2 separate regions of the Homo sapiens genome follow, and region 1 is linked to region 2. Evidence: promoter capture Hi-C in 16 types of primary human blood cells and fetal thymus (Javierre and others, 2016). All regions are on one chromosome and are shown on one strand. Each heading gives the region's core, a stretch centred on a gene start or on the middle of the fragment in contact. The rest is flanking DNA. Distances are from core to core; before and after follow the strand shown.

What was found. Contacts are between HindIII fragments. The CHiCAGO score rates a contact against its expected background, and 5 or more counts as called.
Region 1: a contact is called between the fragment with the promoter of CACNA1I here and a fragment that was not itself captured in region 2, in 1 of 17 cell types (erythroblasts). The highest score is 6.2, in erythroblasts.

Annotation. Positions count from the first base shown.
Region 1 is chr22:39,567,438-39,572,637 of GRCh38, reverse strand. It overlaps CACNA1I (calcium voltage-gated channel subunit alpha1 I), which reads right to left and starts at 1,885. Exons shown (of 37, transcript NM_021096.4): 1 at 1,650-1,885. The coding sequence starts at 1,885. The HindIII fragment of the contact is 9,228 bases long and covers 971-5,200 here.
Region 2 is chr22:40,365,663-40,371,378 of GRCh38, reverse strand. It overlaps ADSL (adenylosuccinate lyase), which reads right to left. Exons shown (of 13, transcript NM_000026.4): 13 at 2,012-4,943. The coding sequence ends at 4,857. SGSM3 (small G protein signaling modulator 3) reads right to left here and starts at 785. Exons shown (of 22, transcript NM_015705.6): 1 at 691-785. RefSeq lists silencers at 400-569, 630-739 and an enhancer at 890-1,099. The HindIII fragment of the contact is 1,399 bases long and covers 3,651-5,049 here.

The sequences.
Region 1 (5,200 bases), core at 636-3,135, 800 kb after region 2:
GCAGACCCTCTCACCAAGCCTGAGACGCTGTGAGCCGTCCCCCAGAAGGAGCAGGGAGGCTCTTAGCCCCCACCCAGCAAGGAACACCCAGTTCTGCATCCCACTCCAGCAGAGACCCGCTGGTTTCCAAAAGTTAGGGGGATCCAGGGCCCACGATCACCTCAGCCCCCTACAGAAGGGAAGCCTGGCAGTCCTGCAGCCAGTCTCAACATCCCAGCCTGCATCTGGCATCCCTGGATTCCAGGGCAGGACTCAGGCCTGCACCTGACCCACCAGCTCCCCGCACCCTGCCCTGTGTGGCCACAAGCACCAGAACCTCGAGCCACATATGGGCATTTTTTGGTGGGACCCTCAAACCACAAGGCCACCATGGCTTGGGTCCCCAAGCCTCCTCCTCAGTGGTCCCCAGCCCCCACTTCACCCTGCAAGCCAGTGCCACACAGTCCTTCCAGAGCACAGATCTCTCCAGACCCTGCTTCAAATCCTGCCCTTGGAGCACAGTCCCATCCCTCATGCAGCCTCCAAGGCCCTGCAGGGCTCCCGCCACACCTGCAGCCTCACCTCACTCCTCTCTGCCCCTCAGGGCTCCAACACTGCCTGCAACTCCTCCCTTCTCCAGGCTTCGCTCCTGCCATGCCCTCCTCCTGCCTCCCACTACCCTCTCTACCCAACCAACGCTCTTCCTTATTGAGGAGTCAGCTCTGGCATTGCCCATGTACACCCAGCAAACACTGCCAGAGCACCCACGATGTGCCAAGCACTGTGCCAGGTGCTAGGGTCCCCATCCCAGTCATCTGACAGTACCCCAGGGGAGGCAAATGTTAGATTCAGAATTCCACAGTTAGATGTGACAGTTAGATATGAAGCAGAGGAGGAATCCCAGAGGGCTTCCCTGAGGAGGTGATGCTTAAGCTGGGATTTTAAGGATGTAGCAAAGGATTTGGCCAGGTCCAGGGGGAAGGGAAAAGCTTTTCAGACAGGGGGAAGAGCCAGTGAGAGGACCCTGAGGCTCAGAAGAGCACAGGGGGGAAGCCAAGTGGTGGGAAGTGAGGCTGGGTGGAACACACAGGCCCTGATGGGTTGGATTAGGACTTTGCTCTGCACCTCCAGGACCATAGCAAATCATGACAGTCTTAAGCAGGGGGAACATGAGCCCACTGGAGGCAGCAAGTGGAGGCAGGAGGCCTGGGAAGAGGCTGCTCGGAGGCACAGTAAGGAGAATGAGTCCTGCCCTGTGTGTTGGGATCGGCTGCCCCGCTGCCCACGCCCACAGTTCCTGATCACGGCTCCCATCCTCTGTATGGTCACGGCCCATCAGGTGGCTCCAGAGTCTGACTGATCTGCATTCCCAGCCCAGCACAGGTCTGGGGCCCACACTCAAGGACTTTCTGAGCCAGCCAGCCACTGGACTGACCCCACAGCCACCAGCAACTTCCAGAACCTTCACATCAGCAGAACACCAGGTCCTCATCCATTTGAGGTCTCCCCAGACCCACCCTCTGAGCTCGCTCACCACCACCAAGGCCCAGTGGCCTCACCGCAGACCTCAGGTCTCCCAGCCGGAGCAAGGTGTGAGCAGCAGGACTCAATCCAGCCCCCCACCCTTCAGCCCCTGCAGGGCCCCGATCAGCCGAGGCTGCGGAGGATATGGGTTGCACACCATCTTGATGCACCAGTTCCGGGGGCTGGTGGTCTGTCGCAGGCAGAAGAAGGCAATAGGCGCCAGGTCTGGGTGTGGGACATGAGGATCAGCTCCATCCAGAGGCTCCTCCAGGCCTGGCGGGGAGGATGGGGGGCTCCGGGGTCCGGGCTGCTCCGTGGTGACTCCTGGCTCAGCGGCTGGGGCTGCTGCAGATGAGGAGGGCGGGGAGGCGCTCTCAGCCATGTCCACACTGAGCTGGGAGCCCTGGGGAAGACAGAGAGGGTGGCACGTGGTGGGGACAGGCCTGGTACATGCTCCCCAACCTGCCTCTCCACCAATAAGTGGACGGATGCAGCTCTGACAGCCCCACCTGAGCCCCACAGGCCCCTCACCCTCACTCTTGCATGAGGATTACGAAACAGCTGAGGGCCCAGCTGCACCCAACTTGGAATCTGCTTCCAAGCTGGGTGATCATGGGGCAAGTCTGCTCACCCTGGCTGAGCCTCAGTTTTGGCAAACGAAGATAGTGGGGAGAATAAAGCCTTCTTAGAATATAATTGTGATATTAACTCTTTTTTTTTTGTCTATTGGCAATTTTCTGTATTTGAAATCTTTCATTATTTAAGAGAAAAAATGTTTAAGTAATTATAGACAGAAAAGAAAGACGGAAGGGAGGGAGAGAGGGAGAGAGGGAGGGAGGGAGGGAAGAAAGGAAGGAAGGAAGGAAGGAAGGAAGGAAGGAAGGAAGGGATCTTAACTTTTTTACAAGACTAGAGCTATGTATTTATTGCACCATCAAAGGTAAAGAAAACTTGCAAGAAAAAAGAGGTGATTGTAAAGACAGACATTATTGCCAGGACAATGCAGGTTACAAAGGCAATGTTGGGGTGCTGCAGAATCAGAGACTGGGGGAACGCTGGCAAGCCAGGAGGGAATCACAGTTGGCTTCCCTGAGGAAGTAACCCCTGAGCTGAGACCTACAGCTGAGCCCTTGACCCAGGGACCTCCCAGCCACTGCCTTACAAGGCTGAGAACCCAGGAATCTTAGAGTCTAACCTCCTTGCCTTACAGATGAAGAAACCGAGGCCCAGAGAAGGGACAGGACAGACATGTAGCAGAGTAACAGCAGAAATAGAATTCCAGTCAAAGGCCAGGCACGTGACTCACACCTGTAATCCCAGCACTTTGGGAGGCCAAGGTGGGTGGATCACCTGAGGTCAGGAGTTTGAGGCCAACCTGGCCAACATAGTGAGACCTCATCTGTACTAAAAATACAAAAATTAGCTGGGTGTGGTGGCACACGCTGTAATCTCAGCTACTCGGGAAGCTGAGGCATGAGAATCACTTGAACCCGGGAGGTGGAGGTTGCAGTGAGCCAAGATCACACCACTGCATTCCAGCCTGGGCAACAGAGCAAGACTCTGTCACCAAAAAAAAAAAAAAAAAAGAATTCCGGTCAGAGCCCGCTTCCTGGGTCTGTGGCTCAGGCAGCTGCACAGGGCCCCGTGCTCAGAAGGGCCCTGAACTTGCTTTAGAATTCTTCTGTCACCAACATGAAATTCTTAATTGCTTATCAAGAGGTCCCACATTTTCATTTTGTTCTAGGTGATGCAAATCATCTTGCTGGCTCCGACTCCAACTCAAAGCACTTCTACTCCCTGGCCTTGTCTGATGCTCACAACAACCTCAGGAGGACTATTATGCCCATTTGGCAGGTGAAGAAACTGAGGCCAAGAGAACAAAGCGGGTTGTCAAGGCTATGCACCCAGCCAAGTGAAGCACTAGGTGGTGTTGAGAGGCCAGAATCCCAGCACCAGACCCCCAGGCGGGCTTCATGACAACTGATGGTGCCCTCGCTGGCCGAGAGCCTCCGCAACCAGTCAATGGCAAGATGGGACGGACAGCCACTCCCAGGGCCTGCCCCTCACCACCTCACCCCAAAGGGTACTAGTCCCTAAAACTTTGTCCACTGGGGTCCCTGGGATCCTAGAACCCCTACAGGGCCAGTCTGAGCCGTGGGATTGAGAGATGGGGTCCACGTCCCTGGTGCCCACCCAGCTGCTGCTGGGCTGTCGACCAAGCCACCCGGAGCTGATGCATTTGGACATTTCTCTGGCTCCCGGGGGCAACGGGCAGGGGTTGGCACCTCCTGCCACTTCCCCTGGCTGGTCAGGGAGGCGGAGTTTTCTCCTGAGCTCAGGGCTTTGCTCTTGATTCCAGAAAAACAGCCACGGGCCTTACATAAGCTCCCAGGCACCTTGGCCTGCCACGTGTCAACCTCCTGGGCTGAAACGCACCCTCCCTAGGGTGGTTCCAGCTCTGCCCACCACCGTGCCAGCCTCGGAGCCCACCACTCCCTCCCCTGGCCATTTGCTCTGGCCAGATTGGACCTCCTCAGGTCCTAGGCCCTGCTCCCGCTCTTCCCTCTCACTGGGGCACCTTCTCCTTCCGCCCAGGCCCTGTTCTCCCAGGCCCTACTGATTCATTCATTTGCCCAATGAGCACCTACTATGTGTGGGCACTGTGTGGGCTTCGGGCTATGCTGGGGCACGAGCCAGACTCAGCACCAGCCCCCATTCAGCCCACACTTCCGCAGAGGAGAGAGACACACCGATCAATTAATTTCTCTCTTTCTGCTTTTCCACAACTCTTATCACCATCAAACACGGTGCATAATTTATGTCTTTATATCTCCATGATTTGGTGTCTGTCTCCCCAGCCTAAGAGAAGCCTGTAAGGGAGGTGTATCCCCTCACTGCTGTATCCCCAGCACCTGGAATGGTGCCTGGAGCATACTAGGTGCTCAATCGATATTTGTTGACTCAGTGAATAAAAAGTGCTGGGAAGTAAATAAACAAGGGGAAAGGTGGGAGTGGAGACAATCATCTTGCCCTCTCTAAAGGAAGAGATGTTTAAGTGAAAACCAAGACGCGGGAGGCCGCAGCCCTGACTGATCTGCTGGAAGAGCACAGGAGGAAGAGCACGTGCGAAGGCCAGGAGAATGGGGCCCGCTCGGTGCATTTAAGGAACACAAGCGAGGCCGAGCCTCGGGCAGGGAGGCGGATGAAACCAAAGAGTTCAGCAGGGCCCTGGGGGAGAACACAGAGGAGCGTGGGTTTTATCCCAAGTTCAGTAGAAGCCACAGGTGGGTTTTAGGCAGGGGAGTGGTGTGCTCTGGTCTGTTTCTAAGCCATCTCTCCAGGGGCTGAAGGGAGAGTGGATGAAGGGGAAGGGGTGGAGCAGGAAGGGCTGGGAGGAGCTGGGCTGGCCTGCCCTTGGCTGCTGGTGAAGACAGGGAGAAGGCGGTGGATTGAGATTTATTCTCGAGGTAAAGCACCTGGTCTCGCAGCAACTGCAGTGGCCCACCTGCAACCCTCGCCCCAGCATTACCGAAGTCCTTCCTGAAACCACACAGGTGGAAAGAGCTCCCCCGGCCTCCGGGACTGCACAAAACTACCCACTTCCTGCCTCTGGGCTACGTCGCTTGCACTGACTTGCTTGTTGCCTCTCTTGGCTTGTTTAATGCCGCCACACTGTGCTGCCCTCTGTGCTCACACC
Region 2 (5,716 bases), core at 3,101-5,600:
GCAGCGTGAGACTGGAAGATACACTAGTCACCCAGTCACTGAAAACAACCTTTGAAACATCTTTATTTTTCTTTCCAAATAAAAAAGAGCCTAGGTCAGTAAACTAAGTATGAGAATAATTTTCAAAATTCCAGTCCTAACCACACCGGATGATTCTGGCTAACGTATGCCTCAGTTTCCCCCGTGCTAAAATGCAAACACACCGGTGTTCCGAGTCTCGGGCCTGGATCCGAGCCCGGGTTCTGCACCTGGATCTGAATCTTAAAGGGAAAACCGCAAGTTAAACCTGAGGAGGAGTCTGCAGCTGTCCCGGTGCCAGAGCCAGCCAGGCTCTTTTTAGAAAGCCCCCCGCCTCAGGCGCGGTTTTCGTAAAACCGCTCCCGGCTGCCAGCGCGGTGGATTCCGGCTGGCGCCCCGAACACCTGAGGTGGCCTCGGCCGTCTAGGGGCGGCCGCACCGGAGGACGCAGCCGACCTCCCCGCCCCGCCGCGTCCCCGGCCCCCATTCCAACGGCGACGCGAGCAAGGTCGGCCCGGCGGCTCTCCGGCCCGAGGCGGTGCTTCTCTCGTGGGCGCCTTCGGCCCATACGACCCTCGGTCGGACAGTCCGACCACAGCCGCCCCGCAGCCCCCGCCTGAGGGGAACTTGTAGGCGCCGGTGGGTCTCCGCTGACTCCCGCCCCGCACTCACCTGCCCCACGGGCCACCTCAGCGCCAATCCGGGTCGGGTTAGCAGCTTCCCCACTCGCACCCAGTCAGCGCTCAGCGGCGCCTAAGCGCACGCGTGGCGGGGCGTGGCATGGGCGGCCGCGGGTCATGCTGGGGGCTGTAGTCGTTCCCGCCCACTAGGCGGGGCGCGTCCAGGGGCTTTGCGCCCCCATCCCAAGGCCAGCATGCATAGCGATGATTTCTTCGTCTGCACCGCAGCCTGAGAAGCTTGGGACAGTATGGTGTGGACCAGCAGTCAGGGTGGTGGGAGATAGACGCTGCAAATAACTTGCTAATTTTTTTTTTTTTTTTTTTTTGAGATGGAGTCTCGCTCTGTCACCCAGGCTGAAGTGCAGTGGCGTGATCTCGGCTCACTGCAACCTCCACCTCCCAGGTTCAATCAGTTCTCTGCCTCAGCCTCCCGAGTAGCTGGGATTACAGGCGCCCGCCACCACGCCCAGCTAATTTTTTTGTATTTTTAGTACAGTATTTTTAGTAGAGACGGGGTTTCACCATGTTGGCCAGGCTGGTCTCGAACTCCTGACCTCAGATGATCTGCCCGCTTCAGCCTCCCAAAGTGCTGGGATTACAGGCGTGAGCCACCGCGCCAGGCCGGAAAACGAAATTTTCTGAGTACCTTCTGTGTCAGATTCTATGCTGTGCAATTCCCATCTCACCAACCCTCACATCCACCTAGGCTTCATATCACCTTTCTAGGGACTCCTAACCCTCGTGCTTCCACTAAAGCTGTGTTTACAAACATCAGGCTCTCCTGGTTCTTAAATGAAACTGAGCATCAGCCAGGGAAAGAGGGCATTAAGTGTCCAGGTGTCTGACTTCAGCTGAGCAGACATTTCATCAGTTGCCCCAAGTTCTGCCCAGAACCTGACATCTGGGTAGTTCTGATGCTGGAGTCCGTGTGAATTTAAACCAATCTTAAAGAAAATACAACAGCCTGGGTTAACAGAGTGAGACCCTGTCTCTACAAAAAACAACAAAAAATGAACCACGTGTGGTTGTGTGTGCCATAGTCCCAGCTACTCAAGAGGCTGAGGTGAGAGGATCGCTTGAGCCCAGGAAATCAAGGCTGCAGTGAACTGTGGTCATGCCACTGCACTCCAGCTTGGGCGACAGAGCAAGATCTTGTCTATATATATATATAAAAGATAGATATATGAATGTATATTATATATAATATATATGAATGTATATTATATATAATATATATGAATGTATATTTTATATATATACATAAATGTACATTTAATATATATATGTTTTCCAGTGAACACGCAGACCACCCATCAAATTAAAATGTTACATGGGAAAATCAGATTACAAAGTTGCATACAAGTATGTAAATACAAAAATAAAGGAGAATGGAAAAGGAAAGAAGACAAGAGATGCACCAACAAATCCACCCATTCAAATAGTCCAGGAAGAAACCAGGTCAAATCGCCAATCACTGGAGATCATTAGTCTAACAGAATTGTTAGGACAGGAACAAGACTGTTATTTCCTTATTTTCTATGAGGAAATGTATTAACTAAAATCCATGGTATCCTATATCCCCAGTATCTGTTATGTAATATAAATTCTCACATTACAGATAAACTGATAGTAGTTGCTGCCTCCAAGTTGCCCATAGCAGAGAAGGAAGTAGACAGAATATCTGGTCAGAGTCCCATGACTTAATTTCCTTGTGTCAGACTTAGTATCCTTTCAAGATTTTTTCTGTTTTGTTTTTTCAGATGGAGTCTCGCTCCGTTGCCCAGGCTGGAGTACAGTGGCATGATCTTGGCTCACTGCAACTTCTGCCTCCCAGGTTCAAGCAATTCTCCTGTCTCAGCCTCCCAAGTAGCTGGGACTATAGGCGCCTGCCACCACGCCCGGTTGATTGTATTTTTAGTAGAGACGGAGTTTCACCTTGTCGGTCAAGCTGGTCTCGAACTCCTGACCTCAGGTGATCCACCTGCCTCGGCCTCCCAAAGTGTTGGGATTACAGGCGTGAGCCACCACCGCACCCGGCCCTTTTCAAGATTTTTTAGAGATGAACAGAGTAACTCTTTCTGGAAGTTGAGCAAATGGCTCTATGCTATCCCTGCTTGCTTGCTATACTAGCCTATGTTCAGAATTTGGTTTTCAGAATTGTCTTCTATTGTTTTTCCAAAAGGATAAGCTCTTCTCTTAGGTTGGCTTTAAGTGACAAGGGCTCGCTGTCACCCAGCCTGGACTAAACTCTTGGGCTCAAGTGACCCTATCGCCTCAGCTTCCCAAGTAGCTGGGACTGTAAATGCGCATCATCGCAACCTGATTTCCTGGCTACTTTTAAATAAAACTGGAACCGATTCAGCCTCCTCTCCCTCACAACATTCCTAACGAGGCAGTCTTCCAGCTTCTGCCTGACCTGGGGGATTGAGTGTAGGTTGCTAATCTCAGTGGTTCCAATGTCTGGCCCCAAGCCAGTCTCAGTAATGGGTATTGAGCTCAGTGTGTCTCTTGGGGCAACACACAATCAAGTCACTCTTCCTGCACCTGGCAATATTTGAAGTGCCGAGGAGTTTTCTTCTGTATAGGATAAAGAGCCCTAACATTCCTCCACCACAAGATCTTTTTGGAGGTTGGCTCTCCAGTTCATCTCTATTCCTCAGACTGGGTATCCAAAATTGAATGTAATGCCAAGAGTGCGGAGCAGTAAGCCTCTGGTGGCTTTTTGGGCACTGGACAACCATTAACACCTCCTAAAACAGTCTTCTCTCAGTTCTGGTGCATACTGAGTTTAAGATTAACTTATTTACATTGATCTTTATTAACTTTTTCCTCTAGTTTAGGACACATCATTTCAGCCGATTTAGGTTAGAGATGAAAACTTATTTTACCAAATAAACATACTTGTTAATTCTCCCAGTTTTGTGTCATCTGCAAATCTGATAAACAAAAGCTTTCATTTTCATCTATGCCGAAAAATATGTAGGATGAGAATGGGCTAAATAACACTAGTGCTCTCCTGGCAGGTAGGTAATTAACTCAATCTTTGGCTACAGTTGCTTCAATCAGCTATAAATCCATGCAACAAGGAAGTCGGGCGCAGTGGCAGAAGCTGGAAGACTGCCTAGTTGCCAAGTATCTGATGTGCTCTTGCTATTGGAAATACAACAAGGAATGACACAGACAACGTTCTTGTCCAATGGCACTTGCTTACACTGTAAACAAGTAAAAAAAGAAAACAAGATTAGGCTGGGTGTGGTGGCTCATGTCTATAATCCCAGAACTTTGGGAGGCTGAGATGGGCGGATCACTTGAGGTCAGGAGTTCAAGACCAGCCCGCCCAACATGGCAAAACTCCATCCCGTCTAAAAATACAAAAATTAGCCAGGCATGGCGGCAGGCGCCTGTAATCCCAGCTACTTGGGAGGCTGAGGCTGGAGAATCGCTTGAACCTGAGAGGCGGAGGTTGCAGTGAGCCAAGATTGTGCTACTGCACTCTAGTCTGGGTGACAGAGCAAGCCTCAACAACAAAATCCATGCAACAAGGAATAAAGACTGTCAGCGGCCCTGATGAAATCAATATACTCAATTAGCATTTCCCTGCTGTATAAGCCTTATCAAAAGATGAAATGAGCTTGGGCACAACTTCAGCTCAATCAGCCTGATGGTCACATCAGGGTTTGGTTCTTTTTTTTTTTTTTTTTAAGTATTTACTGTAGTTCCAAACTTCATCACTTATACTAGCCAAAAATAACCGAAATAAAAGGTATCTGACCATTGACTCAATCACTGAGTCCAGGTTATTTTGCTAGACCTAGATCAAATTCACTTTTAGAAGACAGGACCAGAAATTTCTTGCTACTTTACAAGCAAATGAACACGTGAAAAGGACTAAACTTGAGGCAGCTGGAAAATATGCCTTGAAAGAACAGAGATCAAGTATGAACTACATTTACTATGCAAGAGCAGAGTCAACTTCAACGCTCTTTGTTTTTGCCTTGTTGAGAAATGTGAGACTGAGAAACAGGAAAGCACCATGGGAAGAAGAAAGTGCTGTACTAATTTAAGGTAACAATTCTCGAGGTAAAATAAGGCATTATAGTAACACAATTTTCATGCCTCAGCAATTAACAATGATTTTCGTTTAATTCTCTTCCAACTCTACAGACATAATTCTGCTTTCACCTTCATCACGCTTTCATATGGTTTTAACAGGGGATACACCTCCTCTTCTAAGAATCTCTGCACCTGCCAGAGGAAAGCAAATACAAGACAAAAGAAAATGTTAAGATATTAGCAGATAATACCTTTTCCAATGTCAGGGGATACCACTGAAACCTAATTTGATGAAGCTTTTACTCCAACACTGAGCTTGTTTTCCTCAACTGCCTATCAGGAATTTCTGCCTAGACACAGATGATTCAACCACCATGCCCACATGCTCACCAACCTTTCCCGCAAACTGGCCCAGCCTGTGTTCTCTCAGGTGGTTTCACCATTTCCATCCAACCTAAAAATCACCACAGCTTCTTTCCTCCTGCTTCCCAGCCCTCTTCAAGTAGCCACCAAGAGCTTAACCTCCTCTCCCTCCCCGGTCTGTGTCTCTCACCACTGCCTTCACTCAAGCTCTCATCATCTACTGCTTGGCCCGTTGCAGTAGCCTCCTTATTGGTCTCCTACCTCCAGTTTTAGTCTTTTAGCCCTCAGTCCTTGCACGTACTGCTTGGTATCATAATGACCTATTTACAAGTATTCACCACTAAGTTTTGAGCTCTCTGAAGATGAGGATTATCTATTCATCTTTGTATTTTTTTTAAGACAGGATCTCATTTTGTCACCCAAGCCAGAGGGCAAGGGAATGAATATGGCTCACTGCAGCCTTGACCTCCTAGGCTCAAGCTATCCTCCCGCCTCAGCCCTGAGTAGCAGAGACTACAGGCGCACACCACCACACCTGGCTAATTTTTGTATTTTTTTGTAGAGACAAGGTTTCACCATGTTGCCCAGGATGTTCTTGAACT